Linked DNA regions of Homo sapiens: regions 2, 3, 4, 5, 6 and 7 are each linked to region 1. The links are contacts of gene promoters, found by promoter capture Hi-C in blood cells and fetal thymus (Javierre and others, 2016). All regions are on one chromosome and are shown on one strand. Each heading gives the region's core, a stretch centred on a gene start or on the middle of the fragment in contact. The rest is flanking DNA. Distances are from core to core; before and after follow the strand shown. Region 1 holds the start of BUD13 (BUD13 spliceosome associated protein). Region 2 overlaps RNF214 (ring finger protein 214). Region 3 holds the start of PCSK7 (proprotein convertase subtilisin/kexin type 7). Region 4 holds the start of TAGLN (transgelin). Region 5 overlaps PAFAH1B2 (platelet activating factor acetylhydrolase 1b catalytic subunit 2). Region 6 has its middle 17 kb from the start of PAFAH1B2. Region 7 overlaps SIK3 (SIK family kinase 3).

What was found. Contacts are between HindIII fragments. The CHiCAGO score rates a contact against its expected background, and 5 or more counts as called.
Region 2: a contact is called between a fragment that was not itself captured here and the fragment with the promoter of BUD13 in region 1, in 11 of 17 cell types (naive CD8 T cells, total CD4 T cells, activated CD4 T cells and 8 more). The highest score is 9.9, in naive CD8 T cells.
Region 3: the fragment with the promoter of PCSK7 here is called in contact with the fragment with the promoter of BUD13 in region 1 in 13 of 17 cell types (naive CD4 T cells, naive B cells, neutrophils and 10 more); the score reaches 16.1 in naive CD4 T cells.
Region 4: a contact is called between the fragment with the promoter of TAGLN here and the fragment with the promoter of BUD13 in region 1, in 14 of 17 cell types (naive B cells, erythroblasts, total B cells and 11 more). The highest score is 15.1, in naive B cells.
Region 5: a contact is called between a fragment that was not itself captured here and the fragment with the promoter of BUD13 in region 1, in 16 of 17 cell types (neutrophils, naive CD8 T cells, activated CD4 T cells and 13 more). The highest score is 16.8, in neutrophils.
Region 6: a fragment that was not itself captured here is called in contact with the fragment with the promoter of BUD13 in region 1 in 17 of 17 cell types (total B cells, total CD8 T cells, naive CD8 T cells and 14 more); the score reaches 18.7 in total B cells.
Region 7: a fragment that was not itself captured here is called in contact with the fragment with the promoter of BUD13 in region 1 in 13 of 17 cell types (non-activated CD4 T cells, naive CD8 T cells, fetal thymus and 10 more); the score reaches 15.8 in non-activated CD4 T cells.

What each region holds. Positions count from the first base shown.
Region 1 is chr11:116,770,008-116,774,355 of GRCh38, forward strand. BUD13 (BUD13 spliceosome associated protein) reads right to left here and starts at 2,980. Exons shown (of 10, transcript NM_032725.4): 1 at 2,815-2,980; 2 at 122-215. The coding sequence starts at 2,957. It overlaps ZPR1 (ZPR1 zinc finger), which reads right to left. Exons shown (of 14, transcript NM_003904.5): 14 at 3,792-4,348. BUD13-DT (BUD13 divergent transcript) reads left to right here and starts at 3,464. Exons shown (of 2, transcript NR_186226.1): 1 at 3,464-3,504; 2 at 3,903-4,198. RefSeq lists a silencer at 3,119-3,318 and an enhancer at 3,439-3,528. The HindIII fragment of the contact is 6,866 bases long and covers 78-4,348 here.
Region 2 is chr11:117,249,254-117,253,601 of GRCh38, forward strand. The region is part of intron 6 of RNF214 (ring finger protein 214); the gene reads left to right. Among named protein-coding and RNA genes, the nearest start is that of RNF214, 19 kb to the left of the region's middle. The HindIII fragment of the contact is 9,181 bases long and covers 1-4,348 here.
Region 3 is chr11:117,229,506-117,233,853 of GRCh38, forward strand. It overlaps PCSK7 (proprotein convertase subtilisin/kexin type 7), which reads right to left and starts at 2,568. Exons shown (of 17, transcript NM_004716.4): 1 at 2,522-2,568; 2 at 844-963; 3 at 1-351. The coding sequence starts at 339. It overlaps RNF214 (ring finger protein 214), which reads left to right and starts at 3,166. Exons shown (of 15, transcript NM_207343.4): 1 at 3,166-3,221. RefSeq lists enhancers at 1,257-1,496, 2,366-2,415 and silencers at 2,606-2,755, 2,966-3,305. The HindIII fragment of the contact is 17,537 bases long and covers 1-4,348 here.
Region 4 is chr11:117,196,392-117,200,739 of GRCh38, forward strand. TAGLN (transgelin) reads left to right here and starts at 2,979. Exons shown (of 5, transcript NM_003186.5): 1 at 2,979-3,041. It overlaps LOC100652768 (a long non-coding RNA gene), which reads right to left. Exons shown (of 8, transcript NR_045215.1): 2 at 3,460-3,521; 3 at 2,346-2,397; 4 at 1,928-2,045; 5 at 1,395-1,516; 6 at 839-1,013; 7 at 617-755. SIDT2 (SID1 transmembrane family member 2) reads left to right here. Exons shown (of 26, transcript NM_001040455.2): 26 at 1-1,051. RefSeq lists enhancers at 1-203, 1,536-2,199 and a silencer at 1,602-1,896. The HindIII fragment of the contact is 9,715 bases long and covers 1-4,348 here.
Region 5 is chr11:117,152,403-117,156,750 of GRCh38, forward strand. It overlaps PAFAH1B2 (platelet activating factor acetylhydrolase 1b catalytic subunit 2), which reads left to right. Exons shown (of 6, transcript NM_002572.4): 2 at 39-126. The coding sequence starts at 46. Among named protein-coding and RNA genes, the nearest start is that of PAFAH1B2, 10 kb to the left of the region's middle. The HindIII fragment of the contact is 8,620 bases long and covers 1-4,348 here.
Region 6 is chr11:117,124,644-117,128,991 of GRCh38, forward strand. It overlaps the pseudogene LOC101060089. Among named protein-coding and RNA genes, the nearest start is that of PAFAH1B2, 17 kb to the right of the region's middle. The HindIII fragment of the contact is 536 bases long and covers 2,831-3,366 here.
Region 7 is chr11:117,092,209-117,096,556 of GRCh38, forward strand. All of the region lies in intron 1 of SIK3 (SIK family kinase 3), which reads right to left. Among named protein-coding and RNA genes, the nearest start is that of SIK3, 4.0 kb to the right of the region's middle. The HindIII fragment of the contact is 1,538 bases long and covers 1,267-2,804 here.

The DNA of each region.
Region 1 (4,348 bases), core at 1,730-4,229:
GATCATGCCATTGCACTCCAGCTTGGGTGACAGAGCGAGACTCCGTCTCAAAAAAAAAAAAAAAAAGGAAATTGAGAAGCTTGCTTCATTTCAAAATCCTGACAGCCCCAAAGATACATACCACAGGCAAATCTCCATCATCTTCCTCTTCCTCCTTTTCTAGTTTGGTTGTGGAGATAGCTGTCCAGCTCACATCATCATCCACAATCCGCATTCTAAATGAGAATAAGAAGATCAAAAAGAGTCATTCTAGGATACCAGCATAAAAACATTTATCTATTGGTTTTAAAATAAAGTTCAAAATCCTACAGGATCCTGCATGGTCCAGTCTTTGTCTACAAGGTCAACTTCATCTCCTACTGCTACTTCCTTGGTTGAACACCTCCCTGGTCATCCTTTGGTGCTTAGAAAGGAGCCAAGTTCCTATCACATCAGTTTTCACATATGCAGTTCCTTCCCTCTGCCTGATCTACTCTTTTCAATCTTTTTCTTTTTTTTTTTTTTTGAGACGGAGTCTCGCTCTGTTGCCCAGGCTGGAGTGCAGTGGCACGATCTCAGCTCACTGCAAGCTCTGCCTCCCGGGTTCACACCATTCTCCTGCCTCAGCCTCCTGAGTAGCTGGGACTACAGGCGACCACTGCCACGCCTGGCTAATTTTTTGTATTTTTAGTAGAGACGGGGTTTCACCGTGTTAGTCAGGATGGTCTCGATCTCCTGACCTCGTGATCCGCCCGCCTTGGCCTCCCAAAGTGCTGGGATTATAGGCGTGAGCCACCGCGCCCGGCCCTAGTCTTTTTCTTTTTTGAGACAGGGTCTCACACTGCTGCCCAGGCTGGAGTGCAGGGACACCATCATGGCTCCCTGCAGCCTTGACTTCCCGGGGTTAAGTTATTCTCCCTACTCAGTCTCCCAAGTAGCTGGGACTACAGGCATGTGCCACTGTGCCTGACTACTTTTTTGTATTTTTTGTAGAAACAGGGTTTCACCATGTTGCCCAGACTGGTCTCAAACTCCTAGATGCAAGCAATCCACCCGCCTTGGCCTCCCAAAGTGCTAGGAAACTCTTTCTCATTCCAGGAAACTCTTCCTCATTCTTCAGGTCCTAACACAAATTTAACTTCCTTTGGCAAACTTTTCTTGACTGCTTCACCCAATTCCCTCACCATCCCACACTCACTCAAGACTAAGAACCCTTGTTAAAAACTCTTGGAATACTTTCATTGCATTTATCATAAAGAAAATATATCGATTAGTTGTGTAATTAGTTGCTTAAAGCCTGTATTCCCATTAATCTATAAGCTCCACAAGAACAGGGACTATGTTTTTTTTGTTCACAGAGGCATCCTCAACACCCTACAGTAACTGGAATACGAAATATTCAATAAATGTTTGTTACGTGGATAAACTATATAGCTGAGCCCAAATAATAACAATGACTGCCATGATGTGAAGTTATTCAAAAAGCCAGGGTCACTTAATGCAATCCCTCTAATCACAACCACCACTTAATAAAACCATTATTATTATTATTCTCATTTTAAAGATAAGGAAACTGCAGCTCAGTGAGATGAAACACCTTGCCCAAGGGTACACAGCCTATAAAGTGGCACAGCTAGGATTCGAACTCTGACCAGTGCTGCTCCAACACTCAAGCTACTTTCATCACATGGCACTGCCTCCAAAGGATCCACACAAGTCAGCGAGGCAGAAAGACGAAGACAATAATAAGGCAAGCACCAAACCAGAAAAGAACTTGGACTAGTTCTTTAGAACAATGTGACTTCACTGGGTATCTCAGTGCCTTAGGGTTACTGTAACAAAGTACCACAAATTGCGTGGCATAAAACAACAGAAACTCTCTCGCAGTTCTGGAAGCTAGCAATCTGAAATCCAGGTGTCTGCAAGGCCATCCTCCCTGGAAAGTCTCTAGCAGAGAATCTTTCCTTGCCTCTCCCAGCTTCTGGTAGCCCCAAGCATACCTTGGCTTTTGGCAACATAAATCCAATCCAATCTCAGCCTTCATCTAGACATGGTCGTTTTTCCTTTGTTGCTGTGTCTGTATCCATACTTCCCTCTTTTTAAAAGGCAAACAGTCATCTTGGATTTGGCACCCACCTTAATCAAGTATGACCTCATCTTAACTGATTACATCTCCAAAGACCCTATTTCTAAATGTCACATTCTGTGGTTCTGGGTGGAAAACGATTTGGTAGGGCCCACTACACTGGGCCACAAAGTTGTCCCATATGAAAATAATACCCACTTCATGGTAGTGTGGTGAGGCTTAAATAAACTTATATATGTTTAAATTTCTTATAATGGTGCCTGGCAAGAAAAGTATAACTATATAAATGTTAGCTTCTCACGTTAGGACTATTACTAAGAGTAACAGGAGGTGATCAAAGGTCTCTGATTCAGAACCAAGTCCTTGGGATCTGGGAATCCCCACAGGCAGGTACCGGGCCCTAAAGATCCAAGCACAGAGGCTTTGAATCCGCTCCATTATTCTCGAGGCACAATATTCATTCTCTATGGGAGAGGACGGAAGTCTACCAAGGCGGGAAAAGAGTAATCAAAGTTACACCCCGGCTTTAACGCACTGACGCTACTGCTCAGAGGCTCGAGATGTAAGCGGGGCGGCAGAGGCAAGGCGGGGGGCCTCAAGCGATGTGAGTGGGGCCCTGAGCATGAGCAGGGGTCGGCGGAGAAGCCGAGAGACCCGCCAAGAGGGAAGGAACTGCCGGGCGGCCGAGGGCGGAGTTGGGAAGGGGTGGCTAGACGTCGCAGGCCCCGCCCCGGCCGGTACCAACTCACCCCTTGCCGCCGGCCCCGCCAGGCTTCGGCCGCTTTTTGCGACGCTTGCGACCGGACTCAGATCCCCGGTCGACGCCGGCATCTGCCCCGGACAAGTAACGCTTCAGATACTCGGCCTTGGAAAGCGGCGGAGCTGCCGCCATGGCAGCGGCGGGGGCAGAGAGACGGGTCGGCGCTGGGGACAAAATGCCTCAACGCGTAACGGACGCCAGCCACCCGACAGGGCGGGGCCACGGCCGGAAGTGGCGGAGAGTGCTAAGAATCGCGCGGCTGGCAGGTGCGGCCACCGGGACGCGCTCGCAGGCTAGCCAGGGACGTGCGCACCTTCGGGGCGCTCCACAGCCCTGGGACGACGCCACCAGGTTTCTTCTCTTCATTCACTCACCCACCCACCCACCCATCCATCCAACCGCAGCAAGCGCTGTTCTATGAGGCCACAACCTGACCCAAAGGACCCCGCCCCCATCGGCCGCCTAAACTCCAGAGCACGAGCAAGAAAGTGGAGGGCCACGGGCTGCAGCGTAGCCGAGTTTGAATACTGGTTCCATAGCTGGCTAGCTGTACGACCTCGGGCAAGTTATCACAAAACAGGGAGAATCCCGGCACCTAACTCGGAACGGTCACAGGCTGAGATGATATTACTGTGTGAAGTGCGCAGAGCGGTGTTGGGCACATGGTCATCGGAACTATGTTCGTTATTTTTATAAGTATCTTTAAGTGGGGGGAATCTGCTCCACTAGGCTTCCAGGTACCTACCGTCCAAGAAAGGAAGCCAGGAAGTGCAAACCAACATAATTACTATGAAAAACGTAGTTTCTAAGACCTGTGTAACTCTTCTAGTGTTCTATTACAAGTAGCCCCCAGTTATCTCTTGAAGGAAACTGTAAAACAATCTTGCCAATGAGAAGGACGGACCTGGATCATTTTTTAGCATAGTAAAAGAGAGAAACCAGAGAGAATGAATTCTAACACTCAAGTTTTGGGGGGAAAGAAAAGACTTTATTCTTTGCAGGGGGTTTAGAGCTTTACCTGAATTATCTCATTTAACCCTCACAATTCTCAAATCGTTTCATTATCATATTTTACAGATAAGAACTGAAGCGTGGCAAGATTAAGGAAGTTGCTCAACTTCACATAGTCAGAACATGACTCTAGGGAGTAGAGGCTAGCGAAGTGGGGTGCAAGAGGTCATCCAAATTTCTTGAAATACCAGATCTTTTTACCTCATCATATATGTTAGATTGTCAGTTTTATCGTTTTCTTCCCAGCTTTATTATTTGACAAAAAATTATATATATTCAAGGTGTACAATGTGATGACTGGATATAATTATACATTGTGTAATGATTACCAAAATCAAATTAAGTAAAACATCCTTCACTAATTTATGTAGTAGTTCGGTGGGGGGGCACTTAAGCAAATTTGTCTTAGCAAACTTCAAGTAAACAATACAGAATTATTAGCTATAGTCAACATGTTGTACATTAGATTCCCAGAACTTGTCTTAAAACTGAAAACTTGTACCATTTGAGAG
Region 2 (4,348 bases), core at 1,014-3,513, 480 kb after region 1:
TTACCTTCAACAAACTCACTTTTACTCTTTACATTCTTTATGTAACTCTACTACCTTTTCCATCTGATTGAATTGCTACAGATGGTGATTGATACTAATAATTTTGGTGTTTGTGTTCTTGAAGATCCATTTTTTTTCTTTAAATGTATATGTCACGGTGTGAGAATAATGTTTTCTGCCATTCTTTCTGTTAAATGTGGGGTTCAGTTTTCCGGAAGCAGGGGGAATGTCTCTTGTAGGTATCTTTGTTCTAGCAGTGGTGTAGGTTCTGCTTAGCATTCCATCATTCATAGGAACCGGGACACATAGATTTTGGTCATTATATTATTCACCTTGGCCTGCCATAACAGAATACCACTGACTACGTGGCTTAAACAGCAGAATATTTTACAGTTCTTGGAGGCTGGAAATCCGACATAAAGATGCTGGCAGGTTTGGTTTCTGGTGAGAATCTTTTCCTGGTTTGCCGACAGCTGCCTTCTTCTGGTCTCACATGGCTTTTGTGCTATGCATGCACATTCCTGGTGTCTCTTCCTCTTATAAGGACACCAATTCTATTGGATTAGGTTCCCACTTTATGACTTCATTTAACCATAATTGCCTCCTTCAAGGCCCTGTATCCAAATACAATTACACTGGGGTTAGGGCTTCAAGATACGAGTTTTAAGGGGCACAATTCAGTCCATAACAATTGTATTTCCTGTTTATAGTGTTTTCATTCATTTGTTCAGCCAGCATTTATTGAGTATCTACTATGAGCCAGACAGTAGGGCCTGGAGAGTAAAAAGTCTTCAAAGAGATTACTGTTTATTGTGAGAGACATAGATAAACAGATGATTGCAAAATAGTGTAATGATACCATGACAGTGGTGGTATGAAAGCATCTGAAAGAGGCATATAACCCATACTGGGTAGGGGGAGTCACAGAGGGCTTCCCAGGGAATATCATTCCAGAACTGAGTCCTGAAAAATAAGGGGCAGAAGATAACCACCAAATGAAATGCATGATCCTTGGTTTGATCCTGAATTAAACAAAGTATAATTATAGGACATTTTGGAATAATTGGGAAAATTTCAATAGTGACTACGTGTTAAGTAATACTGTGTCAGTGTTATGTATTTTGGGTGTATAAACCCATGTTGTTGAAAAAAGTTTAAGAAATTAAAAAAATATTTTACATGTGATTATGACATTGTTTCATTATGTAGAAGGATGTTCTTGTTCATAAGAGATACTTGCTGAAGTTTTAGGAGTTAAGTGTCATGATGTAAATGTGGCAAAAAAAATGCAACAACTGGTAAATTTAGATGACAGGTAGACATTCATTTTATTATTTTTATTTATTTATTTATTTATTTTTTTTTTAATTTTTTTTTTTTATTGATCATTCTTGGGTGTTTCTCGCAGAGGGGGATTTGGCAGGGTCACAGGACAATAGTGGAGGGAAGGTCAGCAGATAAACAAGTGAACAAAGGTCTCTGGTTTTCCTAGGCAGAGGACCCTGCGGCCTTCCGCAGTGTTTGTGTCCCTGGGTACTTGAGATTAGGGAGTGGTGATGACTCTTAACGAGCATGCTGCCTTCAAGCATCTGTTTAACAAAGCACATCTTGCACCGCCCTTAATCCATTCAACCCTGAGTGGATACAGCACATGTTTCAGAGAGCACAGGGTTGGGGGTAAGGTCACAGATCAACAGGATCCCAAGGCAGAAGAATTTTTCTTAGTACAGAACAAAATGAAAAGTCTCCCATGTCTACCTCTTTCTACACAGACACGGCAACCATCCAATTTCTCAATCTTTTCCCCACCTTTCCCCCCTTTCTATTCCACAAAACCGCCATTGTCATCATGGCCCGTTCTCAACGAGCTGTTGGGTACACCTCCCAGACGGGGTGGTGGCCTGGCAGAGGGGCTCCTCACTTCCCAGTAGGGGCGGCCGGGCAGAGGCGCCCCGCACCTCCCGGACGGGGCGGCTGGCCGGGCGGGGGGCTGACCCCGCTGACCCCCCCACCTCCCTCCGGGACGGGGCGGCTGGCCGGGCAGAGGGGCTCCTCACTTCCCAGTAGGGGCGGCCGGGCAGAGGCGCCCCTCACCTCCCGGACGGGGCGGCTGGCCGGGCGGGGGGCTGACCCCCCCACCTCCCTCCCGGACGGGGCGGCTGGCCTGGCGGGGGGCTGACCCCCCCACCTCCCTCCCGGACGGGGCGGCTGGCCGGGCGGGGGGCTGACCCCCCCACCTCCCTCCCGGACGGGGCGGCTGGCCGGGCGGGGGGCTGACCCCCCCACCTCCCTCCCGGACGGGGCGGCTGGCCGGGTCATTTTATTATTTTATTAACTTTTTCTTGGTTTGAAATTTTCGAAGAAAAAGTAGCAGGGGTCAGGGTAGGTATAGGGAAGAATTAGCCAGGCAACAAATGAAGGAAAAGACACTGCCGGCAGGGGGCTCAGAGATGTGAGAGAAAAGCAAGCAAGACGTGAAGTGGGGGAGTGAGGCCAGATCAGAAAGGCTTTTATACTGTGTTAAGGAGTTTGGGTTTTTCCATGATAGAGATATTGAAGGATTTTAAGGGAGGAGAGTATCAAATGATACAATTTGCATTTTATTTTTATTTTATTTTACTTTTTCATTTTTTGAGACAGAGTCTCACTCTGTTGCCCAGGCAGGAGTGCAGTGGCACGATCTTGGCTCACTGCAACCTCCACTTCCTGTGTTCAAGTGATTCTCCTGCCTCAGCCTCCTGAGTAGCTGGAACTACAGGCCTGTGCCACCACGCCCGACTAATTTTTGTATTTTTAGTAGAGACGAGGTTTCACCATGTTGGCCAGGCTAGTCTTGAACACCTGACCTCAAGTGATGTGCCCGCCTTGGCCTCCCAAAGTTCTGGGATTACAGGTGTGAGCCATCCTGCCTGGCCTATGATTTGCATTTTCAGTAGATTACTTGGGCAGTTGGAAAATGGATTGGATTAGTGTATTTGACCAGTTAGGAGACTTATCTTGTCAGAGCCTAGGTTAGCATAATTATGGCTGAAACTAAAGTAGTGCCAGTGGGAATGAGAGAAGTGAACACATTTGTAAGACATTTAGGGGCAGCACTGATCAATGTGGGTAGACAGGGTTGAGTTAGGGATAACTCCCATATTTCTGGCTTGGAAAATTAGGGAAATAATGGGATTCTTTGATAAGATGTCTTATCTGTCTTATACGTTTTAACTTAAATTCTGCCTTCTTTGCAAAATTGCCTGTGCCATTTCTTTATGAACTGAATCTGAATTTTTTTTTTTTGAGACGGAGTCTTGCTTTGTCGCCCAGGCTGGAGCGCAGTGGCGTGATCTTGGTTCACTGCAGTCTCCACCTCCCGGATTCAAGCGATTCTCCTGCCTCAGCCTCCCGAGTAGCTGGGACTACATGTGCCTGCCACCACGCCCAGCTCATTTTTTGTATTTTTAGTAGAGACGGGGTTTCACTGTGTTAGCCAGGATGGTCTCGCTCTCCTGACCTCCTGTTCCGCCCGCCTTGGCCTCCCAAAGTGCTGGGATTACAGGCATGAGCCGCCTCACCTGGCCTGAAATTTTTTTTAATGTTTTATTCTTTTAGTGCCATATATCTGGTAATTATTTGATAAGTGTTTATTCTATCACTGGATTGGAAATTAAGGGAATTTCACATTAATATTAATTAAAGATGAATTTACTTAATAGAAATCTGCTAAGTGCTTTGTACTATTTGAAGGTAGTCACTATGTATTTCAATGTAATTATAATTTTTTTATTTTTAGAAACAGGATCTCACTCTGTTGGCCCAGCTAGAGTGTAGTGGTACAGTCATGGCTCACTAAAGCCTTGAACTCCTGAGCTCAAGCCATCCTCCTGCCTCAGCTTCCCAAGTAGCTGGGACTACAGGTGTGCACCACCATGCCCATCTAAGTTTTTCTGTTTTGTAGAGACTGGATCTCAGTTTGTTGGCCAGGCTGATCTCAAACTCCTGCCCTTGACCTCTCAAAATTTTAGGATTACAGGCGTGAACCACTGTGCCTGGTCTAATTATAATTTTTAAAGGAGACAAACTGAATTTACCAAAGTGTAAAAGATCAAATATTTAGTTTAGTCATGTATTTGATTTTTTTTCTCCTGGACACCTGGCTGCTTTGTCCTGGAAATTGTCTTGCTTTTGCAGGGATAATTTCTAGTTCTCAGCTTTTATCCTTCAGGTTATTGCTGGCATTAGAAAGGTGAGGTTTCCCTGTTAGTGCTCTTCCAGTGCAGAACCTCTTTTAAGCTCCCTACCTTTAACAGTGACTTATTGTGTGCAGGTGCGATGGCTTATGCCTGTAATCCCAGCACTTTGG
Region 3 (4,348 bases), core at 1,318-3,817, 460 kb after region 1:
GATGGCCTCCACCTCCAGGGCCGGCCTGTGCCCAGCAGGCTGGACAAAGAGGTAGTGCCCCTGAAGCTCTCCGATGCGTCCAGCATTCACCAGCCCTGCTGCCTGGGCCAAGGCATCCGCCTGCTGCTCCAGAGTCTCTTCCTCCCCGTCACCTTCCAGGCTTTCCAGGTGCACAGCCCAGCTCGGCCCCCCTGTGCCCTGGCCATCAGGCCCACCTGTCCCTGCCAGGCCCATGACCCAGGGAACCAGTAAGAAGAGCCCGGCTAATTCCAGCCAGAGGCAGGTGGGCAGGCCCAGGGGGGCATCCAAGTGTGGCACTTTCTGCCTCCCCTTCGGCATCAGAGCAGTGGACTGCAGACAAAGAAAAAGGATATGGAAGAGATCAAAGAGCTGGTAACTGCAGGAATCTGAGAGGGAGATGCTGAGCCATCCATGTGTTCCCCCTGGAAGTCCCTAAGCCATGCCTTTTAAATTGTGAAACATTTGATCTTCTCTTTTTGTTCACATTTATCCCTGACCAACAGGGATAAGCCCCCAGGTGGAGTGTGGGCCAGCACTAACACCAGCGGATGGCCTCCCACAGCAAGACAGCCAATCCTCACGACACCAGCTAATCCAGCAGGAGGTCCAGTTGCTCACAGGCACTGCGAGCAACCCCTGTTGCCACCCACAGGGCTCAAAGCACACATCGCTTCCACAAACTACTGGCTGCATCGTGACTGTTCTTTAGCAGAGACAACCCCTTCACCCCTACATTTAGAGGGGACATAAATCTTTCCCTAGCTGACTCCTCAGTCCAGTTGTCCTCAAGGCTAATTCCCCATAACAGGGCCCCGTGCCCACCTGGATTCTACATGAGGTTGAGCTCCTGGTCTGGCTAACCACGTCACACTCATGTTGTGCAAATGGAGAAAAGGCATCACTTTCACTGTGAGTAGTGTTGACTCAGCAAAGGCTACAGACCTGTGGGATCCAAGAACAGAAGAAATAATGTCCCACCAATCCCAGGGCAACAAGCTGAGGTTAGATAAACTCCAGGACCAGGGACCAAAGAAACTTCATTAATTGTCATTTCCAAAGATCTAAAATCGGTCATAGACTGGAGCAGAACTGGTACGGTGAGGCCAAATCAGTATAACACCCAAAAAACCCACTTCCTGTGCTATCGTGCCACCCTCTTTTCATTTTGTTCCCCAGAGGCCTAGCAAAAAACAGTTACCAAAATGCCTCTTGAAAGAGTAGGTAATAACGTCCTAGAAGTCCAGGTGGTAGCTAACTTCTTGATTTGTATATCCCAGAAGGATACCAGGGAAAGTGAAAGGAGGGAGGCGGCGGGGGCGAAACGGGGAAAGCCAGAGAGTGCAAACAAAACAGAACAGGCACCAAGGACAAGCGGGCAACCAGGAGAGAACGAATGATGAGAGAACCTCACTAAGCAGCTACTCCTGTACTGAGCTCAGGAGGCTGGCTTCAAGGTGAGGACTCAGACTCCAGACTGGGACTCCAATTGCCTGGGTTTGACAGAACCAGGGAATTGGTCTCAGGAGCCCTCAAAAAAAAAAAAAAAGAGCCAAGTTAGAACTGGGGGACAGACAAATGGGGTGGCAGGACATGTGTGTACCTATGGTGGCTGGGCTCCTTTAAAAGCCTTTGCTCTCCACTGGGTCCACCCTGGGGCAGGGCTTAGTACTCAGATACACACCCAAGCGGCTCTACCTCAAAGCATTCCAGAAAAATGGGAATTTTACTGAAAGGCTTCCTGGAAAGGAGAACTTATGCCACCTCTCCTTTACCTCTAAAAATCTTCATACTACATTTCTTCCTCTCGTTTTCTCTTAGGTTTCCAGGCATATTCCCTCTCAATCCCTCCCTGCCCCCGGGAGCCTCAATTCTCCCAAGATATTTAGGTGTCTTCCCCAGTCTGCATACTCTACTAAGTAAACAAACTAACAAACAAAACCCTTGTTAGCCAGACAGTGGCCCCGCTAGGCAGACTCCTTCAGACTCAGTAGATCCCACCACAGATGTCAGGAAGAAAGAGAAGCAGGAGCTCCTTCTGTCTACTAGTGGCAAAGCAGCATTTTTATCCCCCAGGCTTCTGGGAAAGGAACCTTAAATGCCTTCTGAAAGCAGGTCTCAACCTCTCCCAACGGCTAGGCCTCCCTTTACAGCTCTTAATTGACAAGGAAGAAGAGAATGGGCAGCCTGGAGTCCAAGATCCTGCTCCCAAGCTACTGTCCTCGCTGTTCCACACCCGGCTCCTAGAAGCCAGCTTGGGTACCGGGTCAGTTTCCCGATTCTCCCTCCGTCGGCCTCGATCGCTCCGTGCAATGTGCCCCTCTCCTCATTAGCACCCACATTATCCAGGAATTCTGGGCCCTGGGGCCCCATCTCCTTGGTCCCCCACGCCAGGACCTCAGGCACCCTCTGTGCAGCTCCCTCATCCTCAGACGCCGGCTTCCCCCACTTCTGGGGCCCCCTGACCACCCAGGTCCAGCCCCACACCTAGTTCCCAACTCACCGGCCCCGCCGCAGCTGCCGCCGCCTCCCTGCGGAAACTCGCGGCTTCCCGGGAGCCGGAGGAGCAGTGACAGCAGCATCACTTCCGCCCGCGGCGCAGCCAATCAGCGCGGCGCCTGCGGCCCGGCGACCCCCGCGGGCCACAGCAACCGGCGCCCGGGGTCCGGCTCCCGCGGGCGGCCTACGCAGGCAGGGGCCGTGCGGGCGCTGGGGGCTGAACCCGCGGGCTCCGCCTCCCCGAGTCCTCGGGGCATCTTCCACATGGTCCCTCTTCAGAAGGCTCTCCTTCATGGCGTCCTCTGTAAAGGGCATTTCGGTTCCGACCTTTAAAAGCCACTCGTTGCTCTTCTCCTTCTGACCGCCATGGCCCCGACTGTCCCTGTAATCTTCCCAGAGGGGATCCTGCCCACCCAGGTCGCCTTCCTTCTCGCAGTCGGCTCTCCCTTCTTCCCCGCGCCCCGGGAGAGTCCACTTGTATCTCAGGGGTCTCCCGCAGCATCCCCGTGCCCCGGCGGCGCCAGCTGTCGCCGCCAGAGGGCGCCGTCGGGGGCGGCGCGGCGCCACCGCGGCCTCTCCTCTCGCGGCCGGAGCCTCGCCCCCTCCGCTCGTGCCGCCGGAAGTGGGAGGTGCCGCGCGCGGGCCGGCGCTCGACCCCTCCCCCCGTGGCTCGGCCGCCCCCTCCCCCCGCTCCGCCCGCTCAGGTGCGTCCCGTCCCTCCCCCACTTTCCTCCCGGGGGCGCGGCGCGGGAGGTGTGTGCGGGGCGAGCGTGGGTGGGGGTTGCGGGGCGAGGGCCGGGCATGGGGGTCGGGTGGGGGGCGTGGAGGGTGCTGTGAGAACCGAGGCGGGGGTCCCGGCCTAGAAGTGGGACGGGGGGGTGGCTGGCAGCGGGGTGGGGGGACCGAGGGGAAGGGGTGGAGGGGGGTCTGGTCCGAGCCAGCGGCCAGCCTAGCAGTCCCCTGTGGGGGGTGGCCAAGGCCACCCAGCGCCGCTTCCCCCCATTGTCCCCTTCCCGTCTGTCCCCTGTTCTCGCCCGAGGACCCGTGGCTCCGGCGCCCCTGCTTCGCTGGTGGTCGCCCCGGGTTGCGGAGTTCTTTTTGGTACACTCGACCCTCCAGCCAGCTGTTCCTACCCGCGCCACGGGCTCTCTAGCCACGGAGTTGCATGCATGGCCCTTGTCCTGGGGTTTCGTTCACCGGGCGCAGAGGACCCCCCAGCCCTGGGCTATGTTGGAGACGGGATGTTTGCACCTGAGGGAGCAGCAATGGCGGTTTGGGCCCATTTTCTCCCAGGAGCTTTGTATAATGAGGGAAACTGAGGCACAGAGGGTCTGTGGGCTGTGACTGAGGTGTTGACACAGCCCCATCTACCTATCTGCCCTATGCGCTCTTCAGTGTTCCGGGGGGGAATACGTGTGATGCTGTTAAAATAAAAGCAAGAATGCAAACTAACCCGATGTTCATCCCCACCTCCCAAGTATTTTGATTTTCTTTTCTCCTCATAAGGTCATAAGTTTGCTCTGCGGCATAAAAGATGACCTTTTGATTTTTAAAAAAGGCGTCCGTCCCAGTTCCCTTACTTGTGTTACCATGTTTTTTACCTTGACTTTTTCACGCTAGAGAACCCAGGATTCTTTTTTGCACCACTAGTCACTCTGAAGAGTCTGTTCTTTGCTCAGTTAGTGGGTATCAGGCCTTTCCCATCTGTGGGGAGCACGCTGACAGTAAAATATGCACCCTGGATTGCCCAGTATTGCATTACTTGTTGACTTACAGGCAGACACCTCCAAAAACTTCCCTTAAATTAATGGAGAATGCTTTGAATGTAACA
Region 4 (4,348 bases), core at 1,729-4,228, 430 kb after region 1:
AAGGGACACCCTCCCCATTTCATGCCTTGCATTTTGCCCGTCCTCCTCCCCACAATGCCCCAGCCTGGGACCTAAGGCCTCTTTTTCCTCCCATACTCCCACTCCAGGGCCTAGTCTGGGGCCTGAATCTCTGTCCTGTATCAGGGCCCCAGTTCTCTTTGGGCTGTCCCTGGCTGCCATCACTGCCCATTCCAGTCAGCCAGGATGGATGGGGGTATGAGATTTTGGGGGTTGGCCAGCTGGTGCCAGACTTTTGGTGCTAAGGCCTGCAAGGGGCCTGGGGCAGTGCGTATTCTCTTCCCTCTGACCTGTGCTCAGGGCTGGCTCTTTAGCAATGCGCTCAGCCCAATTTGAGAACCGCCTTCTGATTCAAGAGGCTGAATTCAGAGGTCACCTCTTCATCCCATCAGCTCCCAGACTGATGCCAGCACCAGGACTGGAGGGAGAAGCGCCTCACCCCTTCCCTTCCTTCTTTCCAGGCCCTTAGTCTTGCCAAACCCCAGCTGGTGGCCTTTCAGTGCCATTGACACTGCCCAAGAATGTCCAGGGGCAAAGGAGGGATGATACAGAGTTCAGCCCGTTCTGCCTCCACAGCTGTGGGCACCCCAGTGCCTACCTTAGAAAGGGGCTTCAGGAAGGGATGTGCTGTTTCCCTCTACGTGCCCAGTCCTAGCCTCGCTCTAGGACCCAGGGCTGGCTTCTAAGTTTCCGTCCAGTCTTCAGGCAAGTTCTGTGTTAGTCATGCACACACATACCTATGAAACCTTGGAGTTTACAAAGAATTGCCCCAGCTCTGGGCACCCTGGCCACCCTGGTCCTTGGATCCCCTTCGTCCCACCTGGTCCACCCCAGATGCTGAGGATGGGGGAGCTCAGGCGGGGCCTCTGCTTTGGGGATGGGAATGTGTTTTTCTCCCAAACTTGTTTTTATAGCTCTGCTTGAAGGGCTGGGAGATGAGGTGGGTCTGGATCTTTTCTCAGAGCGTCTCCATGCTATGGTTGCATTTCCGTTTTCTATGAATGAATTTGCATTCAATAAACAACCAGACTCAGTTCTTGGGGCCCTTGTTTGCACTCCCTCTGGGTGGAGCTGTTGAGGATGAGGGGAGAGGCGGAGGTCTTCCATTTCCCCATTCTTCAAGCCATGGCCCTACTGGGAACTGCAATTCCTTGATTCTCCCGTTTTTCCTGTCCCTCCAGCAACAGCATTAATTCAGTAAACATTTACCGGGGCACTGTGCTGGACAGAGGCCAGTTCCTGGAAAAGCCTTTCCCACGCCATCCCACTGCAGACATCCCTCCTTACCTCCCCAGGAACAGCAGTCTCTGCCCACCTGGCCCCGCCCACCAGACTGAGGCTCACTTCACCTCTGACCTGAGCGGCCCCCAGCTCACCAAGCCACAGGCCCAAGCAGTGCTCCCTGATGCGGCGTTTATAATCCGCTCAGCGTGCAGGCCGAGGCAGGAGGGTGATGAAAGCTGGGCAGGCTCCAAGAGGAGGGAGTTTTGATATGTCCCTGAAAGATTCATTTAGACTTCAGTCGGCTAAGGAGGACATGATTTGGGGGCCAAGGAATCTGTTGAATTCAGAACACAACCAGAGGTCTGCAGGGTCAGGGATGGAGGAGTGGGCTTTCCCCTCGCCAGGGCCCACTCCTCTTCCTGCTTTTCCTGCAGGCGCCACTGGGAGGTGCTATGGCTGTGCCTCCCCTGGGCTCTGGAGCATGTCCAGTTGCAGTGGGCAGAACTGCGGAGGCGGGCCCCTCCTCTGCCAGGCCTGGCAGCCCCCTCCTAGGGCCTTGTTTGGCTAGGGGTGGTGCCGGGTGTGGCAGTGTGTGTGTAGTGGAGAGTGTTAGGTCTTCCCTACCAGATGCCCTTGCAGGGGAGTGCCACAGCAGTCAGTCCAGGGATCCCACTGTTAGTCTCACCTTTTTTAACCTCTTATCTCTCCCCAAGATCCCTGAAGCCAGGTACGAGCAAGATGAGAGTGGGTTATCTCTGGAGTGACAGAGGCTGGTCTGTTTTCCAGGCTGGTAGGGACTGTTCCTAAAGGGAGGAAGGGATGATACCAGCCTCCTGAGCCTCCTTCTCCTGCGTTAGTGTCTCAGGCCCTGCCAGGCCTTATAGACCCTCTTATTGACACTGCCCACTGGATGGGGACCGGAGTTGGACTCAGCTTCTGCCGAACCCTCAAATCCCAGCCCCAACTAAAGCATATAACTCAAGACCTACCTGCACTGAAAGCTCTTCTCAACCTGAGCAGGGTGGTCCAATTGAAAGGGTGGGTCTGACCACCTCTCCTGCACCCATGCGGGTTGGCAGAGGTGTGCAGGATCTGCCACTTACCATTCACCATGTGGCCTTGAGGAAGACGCACTCGGGGCCTCAGTTTCCTCATCTATAAAATGGGGATGTAATTACACCCTCACACTGTAGCTGTGAGTATTCAATGAGAGCACTGCAAAGGGCCTGGTGTGGAGTAGGTCCTCAGGAAAGGTTGGATCCCATGTCCCATCAGAGCTAAAAGCCCCAGGAGGAGAGGGTGGCTGGTTTGTCCCCACAAACCCCTGGGATTCCCGGCTCCCCAGCCCCTTGCCCCTCTCTCCAGCCAGACTCTATTGAACTCCCCCTCTTCTCAAACTCGGGGCCAGAGAACAGTGAAGTAGGAGCAGCCGTAAGTCCGGGCAGGGTCCTGTCCATAAAAGGCTTTTCCCGGGCCGGCTCCCCGCCGGCAGCGTGCCCCGCCCCGGCCCGCTCCATCTCCAAAGCATGCAGAGAATGTCTCGGCAGCCCCGGTAGACTGCTCCAACTTGGTGTCTTTCCCCAAATATGGAGCCTGTGTGGAGTCACTGGGGGAGCCGGGGGTGGGGAGCGGAGCCGGCTTCCTCTAGCAGGGAGGGGGCCGAGGAGCGAGCCAGTGGGGGAGGCTGACATCACCACGGCGGCAGCCCTTTAAACCCCTCACCCAGCCAGCGCCCCATCCTGTCTGTCCGAACCCAGACACAAGTCTTCACTCCTTCCTGCGAGCCCTGAGGAAGCCTTGTGAGTGCATTGGCTGGGGCTTGGAGGGAAGTTGGGCTGGAGCTGGACAGGAGCAGTGGGTGCATTTCAGGCAGGCTCTCCTGAGGTCCCAGGCGCCAGCTCCAGCTCCCTGGCTAGGGAAACCCACCCTCTCAGTCAGCATGGGGGCCCAAGCTCCAGGCAGGGTGGGCTGGATCACTAGCGTCCTGGATCTCTCTCAGACTGGGCAGCCCCGGGCTCATTGAAATGCCCCGGATGACTTGGCTAGTGCAGAGGAATTGATGGAAACCACCGGGGTGAGAGGGAGGCTCCCCATCTCAGCCAGCCACATCCACAAGGTGTGTGTAAGGGTGCAGGCGCCGGCCGGTTAGGCCAAGGCTCTACTGTCTGTTGCCCCTCCAGGAGAACTTCCAAGGAGGTGAGGAGTGTGTGAACGCACCTGTGTTGGAGCACGGTGTCCCACTCTGGCGGGTCCCCAGGGCCTGAGCAGCAGCGATAGCCCTGTGACAATGTGAAGGGCCACAGAACTCTTGTATTCCAGTCAGGGGCAAAGAGTGGAGACGGAAGGCCTGTCCTTCTGACAAGCAGCCCCTTCCACTGTCTGACAGTGGGAGGTCACCCCCACTGTAGCAGAGGGGTGGGGGGCGGGTACTGCCAAGGAGGAGCTTTGGAGTGATAGGCGGGGCAGGCCTGGGACCCTTGGTCTTTCCCAAAGGGTGGTTCCCTTTCGAAGTTGCTATTCCAAAGGTAGCAGTGAGGATGGCACACATTTATGTAGCCAGGCCACTCCTGTTTGTCCGTGGAGTGGAGAGGAGCCACCCTCCTGCCCTCTCAGAGGTCCAGGTGTGCTCACTCCTATTTGGGAAGAGAGAAGGGGCACAGCAGCCCTGCAGGGGCCCCTGGCTCTGCTCGTGTTTCTGGGCTTCTGCTGGTAGGGGGTGCCACCTTCCCGTTTGACCCTGGACTTTCTTTCTCCACTGCCCACTTTCACCCACTGGGCAGCTCAGGGGAGGGGTCCTGGCAGGAGCCACAGGGCAGGAGGGTCCATGCCTGTCCATGCTGTCCTGGGAGTGTCTTGAGATGCCCCTGGGGGGGCCGCCCTGTAATCATCCTCCTCTCCCCCTCCCCACTGGCTCGAAGGCAGGACTCGGGAGGCTTCATCAGAGGACTCTAAAGGATTTCTGGGGATTCTCCACTTTTCGACCCTGACCCAGGAGGAGGAAGGGGAAGGATGGTGGTGCTGGGTGGGAGTGGGGATGGTGTGTGCTTCATCCCCCTCTGACCGAAATCCTAATCTTGTCTCTAGATCTGGGGGCTGCAGCGTTGTG
Region 5 (4,348 bases), core at 1,362-3,861, 380 kb after region 1:
GTTAACAAATGAAACATGACATAGACGTTTTTTCTCAGGTGTAGAATGAGCCAAGGAGACTCAAACCCAGCAGCTATTCCGCATGCAGCAGAAGATATTCAAGGAGATGACCGATGGATGTCTCAGGTAAAAGGAAGTGCATGTGTATCATTCACATGAGTTGAGTCTCCAGTTTTTTGTCTGTTTTGTTTTAGTTTTTGAGACAAGGTCTCACTGTGTTGCCCAGGCTGATCTCAAACTGCAGGGCTCAAGTGATCCTCCCACTTCAGCCTCCCATATAGCTGGGACTAGTGGCACATATCAGTATGCCTGGCTTCTTCAATTATTTTAAGGTCTTTTGACCAAAACTGCAAAGGGGCAATTAAAAAAAAAACAAAACAAAACTCTAGGCTGGGCATGGTGGCTCACGCCTATAATCCCAACACTTGGGGAGGCCGAGGTGGGCGGATCACAAGGTCAGGAGTTTGAGACCAGACTGGCCAATATGGTGAAACCCGTCTCTACTAAAAATAAGTTAGCCGGTTGTGGTGGCAGGCGCCTATAGTCCCAGTTACTGAGGAGGCTGAGGCAGGAGAATCGCTTGAACCCAGGAGGCGGAGGTTGCAGTGAGCCGAGATTGTGCCACTGCACTCCAGCCTGGCAACAGAGCAAGACTGCATCTCAAAACAAACAAAAAACAAACAAAAAAACTGTAACCTTGTGACCCGTGACAGGTTGTACAAAGGGGGATTTTAATAGTCAACAAGAATTTGTTACTGTAAGTAAAAATGTAATGTTACAAATGTCCTGCCTCTTCACCATTCTGATGTTGGAACTGGGAAATATTTTAAGTTTTTTTATTTTGCAGTAATTTCAAAACTACACAAATGTTACAGAAATTTAGAAAGAAGTATCTTCATCTAGACTCACCAATTGTTAACATTTTACCGTATCTGCCTAATTATTGTGTCTGTATCTATTTTGTTTTAGTTTTTTTTTTGTTGTTGTTGTTGGTTTTTTGAGATGGAGTCTCACTCTTGCCCAGGCTGGAGTGCAGTGGTGCAATCTTGGCTCACTGCAGCCTCCACCCCCCTGCCACCCTGGGTTCAAGATATTCTTGTGTCTTAGCCTCCCAAGTAGCTGGGATTACAGGCGCCCGCCACCACGCTCAGCTAATTTTTGTATTTTTAGTAGAGACAGGGTTCTGCCATGTTGGCCAGGCTGGTTTCAAACTCCTGACCTCAAGTGATCTGCCTGTCTAGGCCTCCCAAAGTGCTGGGATTACAGGCGTGAGCCACCATGCCCTGCTGTGTCTATATCTATTTCTATATGTATATACTAACGTAGTGGGTTTTTCTGAAGCATTTGCACTCATTTCCCTTATCCCTGAATATTTCAGCATGTTTTCTTAAAAACAAGGACTTTTCTTAAATAACTATAGGATAGTTATTAAAATCATGAGATGTAATATTGATATAATACTATTATTACTTAATCCAAAGACCATATTCAGATTTCTCCAGTTGTCCCAATATTTTTTTCTTTTCTTTTTTTTTTTTTAAGACAGGGCAGTATACAGTGGCTCATGCCTGTAATCCCAGCACGTTAGGAGGCCAGGGCAGGTTGGGAAGTCAAGGCGGGAGGATCACTTGAGCCCAGGATATTAAGGCTACAATGAACTATAATTGTGCCACTGCACTCCAGCCTGGGTGACAGATTGAGACCTTATCTCAAAAAGAAAAAAAAGAAGTATACCACAGTTGATTTGCCCATTTTTTCTTTCATGGACATCTGGATCATTTATACCTTTATGAATAGTAACTAGGCCAGGAGTAGTGACTCACACCTGTAATCTCAGCACTTTGGGAAGCTGAGGCAGGTGAATCGCTTGAGCCCAGGAGTTCAAGACGAAGGAAAGGAAAAGAAAAGAAAAGTAGTAACTAAACTAGATATCTTCATTATTCTTGTCTTAAGTTAATAGGCTTCAATGAGCTCTGGCTGTAGAAAAATCAGTCAAATGGAAGAAAAACACAAATATTTTAAAAATTTTTTTGGAGACAGAATCTTGCTCTGTCAAGCATGCTGGAGTGCAGTGGCACCATTACAGCTTGCACCATTACAGCTTGCACCATTACTGCAGCCTTGGCTTCCCGGGCTTAAGTGATCCACCACCGCTTCTCAAGTAGCTGGGACCACAGGTGCATGCCACCATGCCGGGCTAATTTTTTTTATTATTTTTTGTGGAGATAGGGTCTCACTATATTGCCCAGGCTGATGATCTTGAACTCTCGGCCTCAAGTGATCCTCCTGCCTCAGCCTCCCAAAGTGTTGGGATTACAGGCATGAGCCACCGTGCCTGACTTTAAAAATCTTTTAAGCATTGCATACTGAAATATTTATACTTGGAATGATATATCCTCAGTTTGCTTCAAAATAGTCTGGGGATGGAGTGGGGCAGTAGTTGGGAGTATGACTGAAATAATGCAGGCCATAAATGATTGCTGTAGCTGGTAATTGATACATGGAGGTTTATTCTCTCTGAATGGAGATGTTATTCTCTCGGCTTTTGTATACATTTGATATTTTGCGTAATAAAAAGGTTTTGTTTTGTTTTTGTTTTTGAGATGGAGTCTCACTGTGTTACCCAGGCTGAAGTGCAGTGGTGTGATCTTGGCTCGCTGCAACTTCTACCTCCTGAATAGCTGGGATTACAGGCACCCACCTCCATGCCCGGCTAATTTTTGTGTTTTTTTAGTAGAGACGAGGTTTCCCCGTGTTGGTCAAGCCGGTCTTGAACTCCTGACCTCAGGTGATCCACGCACCTTAGCCTCCCAAAATGCTGGGATTACAGGCGTGAGCCACCACATCCCTGGCCTAAAAGGTTTTCTTAAGGGTAGTGTTGAAAGACTTGCCAAATAGAATAGAAATCGTATCAAAACATATTAACCAGAAAAATAAGGCTCAGCAGCAGACTAAGGAAAATAAACGCAGTAAATATTATAGATGAAGCATAGATACCTTATATTATCAATAAAAATATCCTAAAGGAACTAATATATAAGTATTTCAGTAGACATGATAGGAAGTGTAACTTTGTTTCCAAAAAGTGTAAATTAAAACATTAGGAAGAGAAAGAAAGAGAAACGTTAATATCTAATTCAGGTTCAAGTACAGTAAAACCAGTTCTAATATATTGCTGGAGTCCTTACAGATTAGCATATAGCCCTTTTGTTGAGAATTTGGAAATATGTCCAAAATCCATAAAAATACTGATTTATTTTGACTAAGAATTTCCAGTGTAGGAAAAATTATATATATATATATCCCTTTATCACACTTACTAGATTCACAAAAAGAGGCCACTGGCAAGTCTGTCCACAGGAAGAAGAGTGTGACCTGGGAGGCTGAGGCAAGAGGATTGCTTAAGCACAGGAGTTCAAGACCAGCCTCGGCAACATAGACCCTCATTCCCCTCACCCCCCAAAATAGCAAACAAAAATGTGTCGTTGAGTGCATTCAGTAGAGTATATTATGTGTAGTGGCTCATACCTGTAGTCCCAGCACTTTGGGAGGCTGAGGCCAGTAGATTGTTTGAGGCCAGAAGTGCAGCCTAGGAAACACACCAAGACCCTGATTCAACAAAAAATAGAAAAAAAAATTCACTGGGCATGGTGGTGTGTGCCTGTAGTCCCAGCTACTGGGGGGCCAAGGCAGGAGGATTGCTTGAGTCTGGGAGTTTGAGACTGTAGTAAGCTGTGATCATGCACTGCACTCCACCCTCGGTGACGGAGCAAGACCCTGTCTCTAGAAAAGAATATATGGCCATTAAAAGTTATGATTATAAAAACTGCATTGCTACATAGAAAAATGGTTCTAGTATGATGTTAAGTGCAACTATAACGGCTACCATTTATCAAGTACCTAGTGGGTGCCAGTCAATAGCTGGGACTCTTTAACAACTCTAAAATGGAGTTGCCAGCAGATGTTAAAACCAAGACACAAATTATGTACTTTCTTAAGATCACTGGACTGGAAAGTAGGTAAGCTAGAATTTGAATGTTGGTTTTTCTGGCCCCAGACATATAGTGCCAGAAAGAGGTGTCCATGATGCTTAAACTATGTAAAAGGGGTAACAGAGGACATGAAAAAAGATGAGGAGAAAACACTCAAGCATGGTCATAGTTACTAGGTTAAGGTGGTAGGATTATAGATGTGTTGTTTTGGTCCTTTCTATTTTTCCAAATTTATTACAACTATTACACTTTAGGAGAAAAGTACTAGAACCTTTAGCATAGCAGTCTTAAATTCCACGACTCTACAAATGCAAGCTATTTTATTGGTGTTGAAAGGTAGTTGGGGCCGGGCACGG
Region 6 (4,348 bases), core at 1,849-4,348, 350 kb after region 1:
AATATATGAATTTTGGGTGGCATGGGATGTCACAAATATTTAGACCATAAGACAATCTCAGGTACAAGCAGGAAAAGGCACCACATACAAGAGGGCAAGTTGAAAAAGGAAAGAATGAGGATGAAATAAAAATGAATTGGCTGGGCGCAGTGGCTTATGCCTGTAATCCCAGCACTTTGGGAGGCCACGGCAGGTGGATCACCTGAGGTCAGGAGTTCGAGAGCAGCCTGGCCAAAATGGCAAAACCCCGTCTCCACTAAAAATATAAAAATTGGCTGGGCATGGTGGTGGGCACCTATAATCCCAGCTACTGGGGAGGCTGAGGCAGGAGAATTGTTGAACCCAGGAGGTAGAGGTTGCAATGAGCAGAGATCATGCCATTGCTCTCCAGCCTGGGCAGCAGAGTGAGACTCCGTCTTAAAAAAAAAAAAAAGAAAAGAAATAAAAATGAATTGTTCTCAGTCGTCTTTCACATTTCCTGCTGAGATCTGGGAGATGAGGAGGGAAGAGAGGGAAGGTAGCAGCTAGCTTTAGAGTATAAGCATTATAGCTGGTTCCTGAAGCTGACAGCAGTGGAGTAATGGAAAGAGACCTGAACATTGAGTGAGTTAATGGTGATTCAAGGCTCAGCTCCGCAACCAAGTGGTTGGTGACCTTGGACAGCTTGAATGATCTCATCTGCAAGGTGAAGATAATAATAACCTAACTAATAAAGTTGTTATAAAAACTAAATGAGACAATACTTACAAAAGTACTTTTTAAATTATAAAGGGTTACTTAGGTTTGTTTTGCTTCACGGTAGGATAGTTCTGGGGCTACACTAATGTTACAGATATAAAAGAAGTGGAAAACATGGCCTCGGATCTCAAGTGTCTTATGATCCTATAGGATAAATAAAGTTTACAAACATGAAAAACCTTTAAGATAGCACATGGCTGCACAGGGTTGGATCAGAGCTCTCATCTTGTCTGTTGAAGATGACTCAGGTATGGCTAGGTGTGTCTGGCTAGCTGGTGGGATGGGTCTAAGGAAGTTTATTGGCAGGAAGGCTGGGCACTTCATTTGAGAGTCTTCCTTCTAGAGAAATAAGGAGCCAAGCATGATAGCCTTTTTCAAGAGCCAGTGCCTTGGTCATCAGAATGAGGTGTGGTCATTGTTACTCAAACGCAACTCTAGTTCGACCCCTTAGCTGAAAATCCAGGGCACGTGGAAAAGACAAGTCTCGTCTAGACATTGAAAGAGCTGTTTCTTGGATCAGGTGCTGTGGCTCACGCCTGTAATCCCAGCACTTTGGGAGGCCAAGGCAGGCGGATCTCTTGATATCAGTAGTTCAAGACCAGCCTGGCCAACACGGTGAAACATCATCTCTACTAAAAATACAAAAATTAGCTGGGCATGGTGGCATGCGCCTGTAGTCCCAGCTACTTGGGACGCTGAGGCACGAGAATCACTTGAACCCGGGAGGTGGAGGTTGCAGTGAGCAGAGATCACGCCACTGCACTCCAGCCTGGGCAACAGATTGAGACGCTGTCTCAAAACAAAAACAGAAAGAGCTGTTTCTCTGTCTCTGTAACACACTAGGGCTCAAATAACATGTTTTGGGACCTCTCTCTGAGTGTATATCCAAAAGAGCAAGGGAAATTATTTTATGCTACAGCCCAGGTACTCCTTTAATACCCAGAAGGCTCTCAATGGAGCAGTTGAAAAGACTCAGAGTGCCCACAAGAGGGAACAGAGTCATGGCAGTGCCAGCCTACAGAGTTGTCAGTATCCAGCAAGGACAACAGCACAATAACCGAATACAGCAGTGTGCATTGTCCCCATCAGAGCTGTGACAATCCCCAGCAGAAACTGCCACGCCAGCTAGTATGGTGGGAGGCGGTGTTAACAGCTCAGAGCATCCACAGCTCTTGATAGAGCACTGTGGATATTTTGGGACTGAAGGATGTTGGATATCCCATGGACTTGATAGGAACATTGAGGAAGGAGGCTCCTATTAGAAGATGGACCCTAAAAAGCCAGCAAATATTCATGTAAGACAGAGTTATTTCAGATAACAAAAATATCAGCAGACTGAAATCACTGACGTCACAGAGGAAGTGGTAACTGGACCATGGAGTTGATTTCTTGTTGCTTTCTGTGATGGTTAATTTTATGTGTCACCTTGATTGGGCTAAGGGATGTCCAGATAGCTGGTAAAATGTGACTTCTGGGTGTGTCTGTGAGGGTGTTTACAGATGAGATTAGCAATGGAATCAGTAGACCGAACAAAGAAAATCCATCTTCACCAATGTGGGCAGGCATCATCCAACCGGTCGAGGGGGCAAATAGAACCAAAAAAGCAGAGGAAGGGCAAATTTGCTCTCTCTGCTTGAGCAAGGACATTCATCTTCTCCTGCCCTCAGACATCAATGCTCCTGGTTCTCAGACCTTCAGGCCTAGAGTGGAGCTACATCATTGTCTTTCCTAGGCCTCCAACTTGCAGATAGCAGATGGTCGATTTCTCAGCCTTCATAATCTTATGAGCCAATGCCTCACAATAAAATTCTTTCTATATATCTACATATATCCTATTGGTTCTGTTTTTCTGGAGAACCCTAATACGTTTGCCATGTGTGTCTGAATGTCGAAAGGTGCTTCTTATTCCACAGATCTCAGAGAACATTCAACTATGAATTCTGTAATACCCAGAAGTGCCAATGGAGCTTGAAAAGAGTCTTTTTAACACCAGCGTGCCAGGCTACGAGCTGGGCAGCAATTCTTCCTGGCAAGTAGTTCTTGCAATTTGCCTATACCCAGAGCAGATGCTGCTTCTGCTTTTCCCAAAGAAAGCTTTCTCTATATTCTGCCTTTCCCCAGAGACACAGTGGAGACAGAATCCTTAACTCTTCCCCTGGTGAACAGGCTGTTCAGAGTCTCCTATGCCACACAGGAAAAGTCAGAAACGGGTGGTAGCTGGGGATGCAAGAGAACTAGTTTATCCATAGCCTTTTCTCACTGAAGATTACCTGCAAAGATGGTTTCCAAAGTTGCTTAGGGAATCTGCAGCAGTAAATCTCAAGTGGTCTGGTGGTTGCCATTGGCAACACTCTAGCTTCCCTGAAAACAAGGGACAGGTGTGCTTTTTGCCTCTTTAATATATTGGGGATGAAGGTAGGGGGTAGGGAGAAAGACTGACTGTTCCTTATTCTGAATTCATTTTAAAGATGACTACTCAATGAACTGTAAACGGAATGTCCCTTAATATTTCCTAAGGTGTAAAGCATTTCACGCTCCTGTTTTGAGAGAGAAACATCATCAGCAATCTAGCTAAGTGATAAATAAATCAAATGAAATTTAACGAAGGCAAAAGTTGCCAGGTCTATAAGCTTGCTCCATGAATGTAAGCAAAGAGAGTTGGTATAAATCAGTTCTTAATTTTTTTTTTTTTTTTTTTTTTTGAGACGGAGTCTCGCTCTGTAGCCAGGCTGGAGTGCAGTGGCATGATCTCGGCTCACTGCAACCTCCGCCTCCTGGGTTTAAGCGATTCTCCTGCCTCAGCCTCTAGAGTAGATGGGATTACAGGCATGCGCTGCCACGCTCAGCTAATTTTTGTATTTTTAACAGAGACAGGGTTTCACCTTCTTGTCCAGGATGGTCTCGATCTCCTGACCTTGTGATCCGCCTACCTTGGCCTCCCAAGGTGCTGAGATTACAGGCATGAGCCACCGTGCCTGGCCCAGTTCTTAATCTTTAGTGGCCATAGTCATCATCTGGAGACATTGCCTGAGGCATTCTAATTCAATACGCCTGAGTTGAGGCATGGGCAACAGCAGCCTTATTTACTCTTCTTTCCACTACTATCAAGAGTCTGCAAGCAACTTATTCAACCTCACCTTTAGAGCCTATGTCACCCTGACTGAAATGATTGAAAGAAAGCTTGGAAATTCATAAAAAGAAGGAGCCTGAAGATGTGACTGTCCCCTGGAATGCCAGTCCTTTCACTGATAAACTCCTTTCCTATTCCCAACGTGTCATTCCCATCCACCACTTCTAAGATTGGGGGAAGATTTGACTATAGCTAGAGCAAGAGTGAAAAAGCAGCATCGGCCAGGTGTGGTGGCTCACACCCCCAGTACTTTGGGAGGCTGAGGTGGGTGGATCACCTGAGTCAGGAGTTCAAGACCAGCCTGGCCAACATGGCGAAACCCCATCTCTACCAAAAATACAAAAATTAGCCAGGCATGGCAGCGGGTGCCTGCAATCCCAGCTGCTTGGGAGGCTGAGGCAGGAGAATCACTTGAACCTGGGAGGCAGAGGTTGCAGTGAGCCAAGATAGTACCAATACACTCCAGCCTGGGTAACAAGA
Region 7 (4,348 bases), core at 786-3,285, 320 kb after region 1:
GTCTGGCCTCATCTTTTCCCATCCTTCCACTTGTTTGCTAAGGTACCATGGCATCATGACCTTGTGTCTAATCTTTGACCAAACCAAACTCACTTCTGCCCCATGGCCTTTGCACATGCCATTCCTTCTGTAAGGAATCTTCTGTCTTCCAAATCTTCCCAGGTTGGCTTTTTCTCATCACTCAGGTCTCAGCTCAAATATCATCATCTTGGAAAGAAAGGTCTTCCCTGACCACTCTATCTGAGGCAGCAGCCCCCCCCAGGGATTCTCTAGTCCGTTTATTTTCTTCCTGGTATTCATTCCTATATGAAATTTTTAATTTTTTTACATGTCCCTTGTCTGTCTCCTTCTACTAGAAAGCTCCAGAAAGGCAGATGCTTTTTGTCTCCCTTGTTCATTGGTGCACTCCAGACCCTAGAATGGAACCTGACAAAAAATTTTCATTCAATAAATGTGTTGAATGAATAAATGATTAAGGGAAAGGTTCCATCTCTATGCAGATGTCTTAGGTGTTGTTTTACAGTTACAGTGGCTCTGGTGAGTAGAAAGCATTTCTTTTTCTTTTCAAAGCATCCATTTTGTTCTCTTTTACGCGATGAACTAGAAAACATTAGCCAGACTGAAGCCTGAAAAATGAAAACAGCACTTCTGGCACAGAAATAACTAGTCTGGGCACCTCTGGCTTGAGCGAGATCTATGACTTTCTAGGGAGCTGGCACCAAAGTCAAAATGTTAAAATAAACATCTTTGATGTAGAAAATGGAATACTGGTATTTTGACTCTGGAGAGACTAGTCTCAATCAGTCTTAGCTCTTTACAAAATTTCAAAAACGTTTAGCAACCCCATCACCACTGTATCAAACTGAACATAATCATCTTTCAATAGTCACTTCTAGATTGTCTAGGGATGGGGCTATCTTCCTCAAATGTATCTAATGTAAATTCTGCTTTCAATTTCTTTTTGACATAATTCTCTCCTACTTACCAAATGAATCTTGTTTTCAGTTTTCTAATGGGTGAAAGCATCATCTCATGTGCTTCGTTAAACTCTTCTTTAGAGGTGAAAATAATGCTTTTAGCCCACTTTGACTTGTTCTCCTCATGGAAATGAGTTTGCACTAAACCACACCGATGTGTCTGGCTAGTCAATATTTGGAAAGGGGTCATAGGGCAAAATGTCTTCTCTGTGTAATATTTAAAGTTAAGAATTCTGACCTTGGCCGTCTAAGGCCTTTGCTTGTGCACGCAAGGGCAAATGTGTCCTTAAGCTTGCAGAAACATTTCTTAAATATTTCACTTAAACCTAATTTAAGTGGACCTCTGGAGAAAAGACTGCACTCAACTCTGTTCCATCATCAACATAACAAAAATTAGTTACACAAAACACACTGAAAATTCAAGGCAGCCCAAAGCAAAAGCCAGTGTTGGTCACAGTTTTCATTAGATAAGTCACATTGCTATTTAAAAAAAAAAAAAAAAGTTTAACTAATGAAAATTTATGTTTTAAAATGCTGATTTCATGAGATTAGCCAGCCTGTACCCTATACAAATTAAATCCAACTATCTCAAAGTGGCACCTGCAATAGTAGCAAACTTTTTTTTTACCAGGAAAGTCTATCGTCAGGATGGCATCTACCTACACAAAACTAATGGCATATACATTCATGAATCGTGCCCAAGGGGTGAGAAGCAAAAAAAGGAGGACTATTATTATGTCCATAATATTATTATGTTACTAAAACATCTGATAACGATGATGATGATGGTAATATTTACGTCATGCTATTAGGGCACCATGCTGCTCTAAGAGCTTTACATACACTATCTTCTTTAATCTTCATAACACCTAAACTTGTGAGGTAAGTACTACTGTCATCCCACTTTACAGATGAGGAAACCCAAGCACACAGAAGTTAAATAACTTCTCACAGCCTAAAAATATCCAACTATTAAGCAGCAAAAGATTCAAACTCAGGTTGCTTTATCCAAAGCTGGAACTCTTACCACAAACCAATAACAGGCAAGTGATATATATTTGTTGAAATATAGTTTAAACGTATTTGGCCAAAGGCTTTTATAGTCATGCATACTTTAAAAAATGCATATGGGCCAAGCATTTGGGTTACAGACTCATGCCTGTAATCCCAGCACTTTGGGAGGCTGAAGCAGGAGGATCACTTGAGTCCAGAAGTTCAAGACCAGCCTGGGCAACATAATGAGACCCCCATCTCTACAAAAAAAATTTAAAAATTAACCTGGTGTGGTGGTATAAGCCTGTAGTCCCAGCTACTTAGGAAGCTGAGGCAGGAGGATCTCTTGAGCCTGGGAGTTGGAGGTTACAGTGAACTCTGGCAGTGTCACTGCACTCTAGCCTGGGTGACAGAGTAAGACCCTGCCCCAATATTTTAAAAAAGGAAAAAAAATGCATACAAAATCTATCTACTCTTTGTTCCCAATCATCCAACTAGTGAAGGTATAATTAGGCACAGGCAACAGACTACCTGCAATTTGAGAGCAGAAAACATTCTTTTTTAAAAATATCTGTAATACTTTATAGTTTCCTACCAAAAAAAAAAACAGAGCCAGAGAACCTCAGGCTAAGTAAGGCTCTTCCAAAGAAAAGGAAATCAAAGCAGGTAGGACAAAGACAGCCAGGGTGAGCTACTAACCAAAGTATGTCACAGCTGAACATTCTCTCCTGGTAACTGTTCTGCAGTGCCGCTCTAAGCACTGCAGTGCTGCCAATATGAAGTCTGAGCTCATGAATGCCGTGCTGCAAAAGTAACCAACAACCAAATAGGAAAAGCTTCACTTTTCTCTACTGATTTTATTCATCCCAGGATCCCACTCTAGACGGTTTGAGAGTTAACAGAATTTGGGAAAGGGCCAGCTTAACCACGCAGTATTGGATGGAGTGCAGTATCCTACTCAATAAATGAGGTTTACTTTAGTCTCTTAGTTCTTGGAATGGGTCATGTGTGTTTAAAAAAAAAAAAAAAAAAAAAAAGGAGGGGGATCATAATTATTTCTAATGTTCAGAAAATACCTATTACCTAACCTCCTTCAGCCAACACAAGTATCATCTGAATTACCTCTGTCTGACTGTTATATATGGTTATAAGAAAACCCAGACCATTTCCTACAAGGGGAAAAAAAAATCACACACCTCTAAAAGACAAAACAACAAATGACACATTCTGGAGACAGATGGGGGAAAAAAATAACTCTCTGTTTCCAAATGACCCCTCTGCAGAAGTAAGATAAAGGCTGCAGTGCATGGGGAGAAAAAAAATCAACCTGAGTTAACTGAAGCAGCAGCTTCGGCAACTTCTAGTACCTATGCACCTTCACCATTGTTATATAACCAAACCATAACCTTAATAGGCCATCGTACTGTATGTCGACAGCTGTTAGGCACATCTAAGCTGTCCGCATTTGAGAACCCCTTCCAAAGTGGATTCAGAGAAGCATGGAGCAGGCCAAAATATGCTCCTAGTTCACCCAGAGCACGTGACAACTCCTTGTGAATTAAGCTTCACTCATGTAGTCAGAGTAATTTAAGCAGCAAAAGATATAGCACTTGTAACTGTAACTAGGAAATTGCACACTGCTACAGAAACACAAATGAATGCTGGTGTGGCTCCTTCACACATGCAACTCATTGTCCAAGCCATTTCAGTCTCATTCAAGACTTTGAATATTTCCATACATAGGAATTGCACAACTGCATACCACAAATGATCAAAGATAAAAACCAACATAAACAGTGACACCCGTTTGTAAACAAGCCAGTGTTTAAAATGCTGCAGTCCTAAAGGATACCAAGGTCTCAGAGAAAAACTATGAAAAACACACGCACGCACATATACACACACATGAAAATTAGAAAGCGGGCAGACCAGCCATAATTAGGCACTGGCTTTGCTGACTACTGAAGATAGAAATGTCTCTTTTATATTAAAGCCAAGAATCAACTGTTTGCAATTACATTTACGAAAACATTCAACCCTGTCTGTAACAGATTTTATCAATATTTTGGTGTATCCAAGGGCTGGAAGATTCAAAATTCTTTAAATCATGAAACCATAAACCAGGCAACCAATTAAGTTCATGGAGACTATCCCCCAGAGGTCAGAGCAAAATAACCACAGGAGCACAAAGTGATTACACAGAAAATAGGCAGAAAAAAAGGAAAGAAATAGCAAAACAAGGAACAAGGCATATTGTTTGTAAATGTAAGTTTGCCTTGGCTAATAGTCAACTAGACTGGAAACACGGTGAGGGGCTGGGGTGGCAAGTGAGGAGCACACCAAAGTCTTGGCTCAATCGACTTCCCCTGACTTCCCCT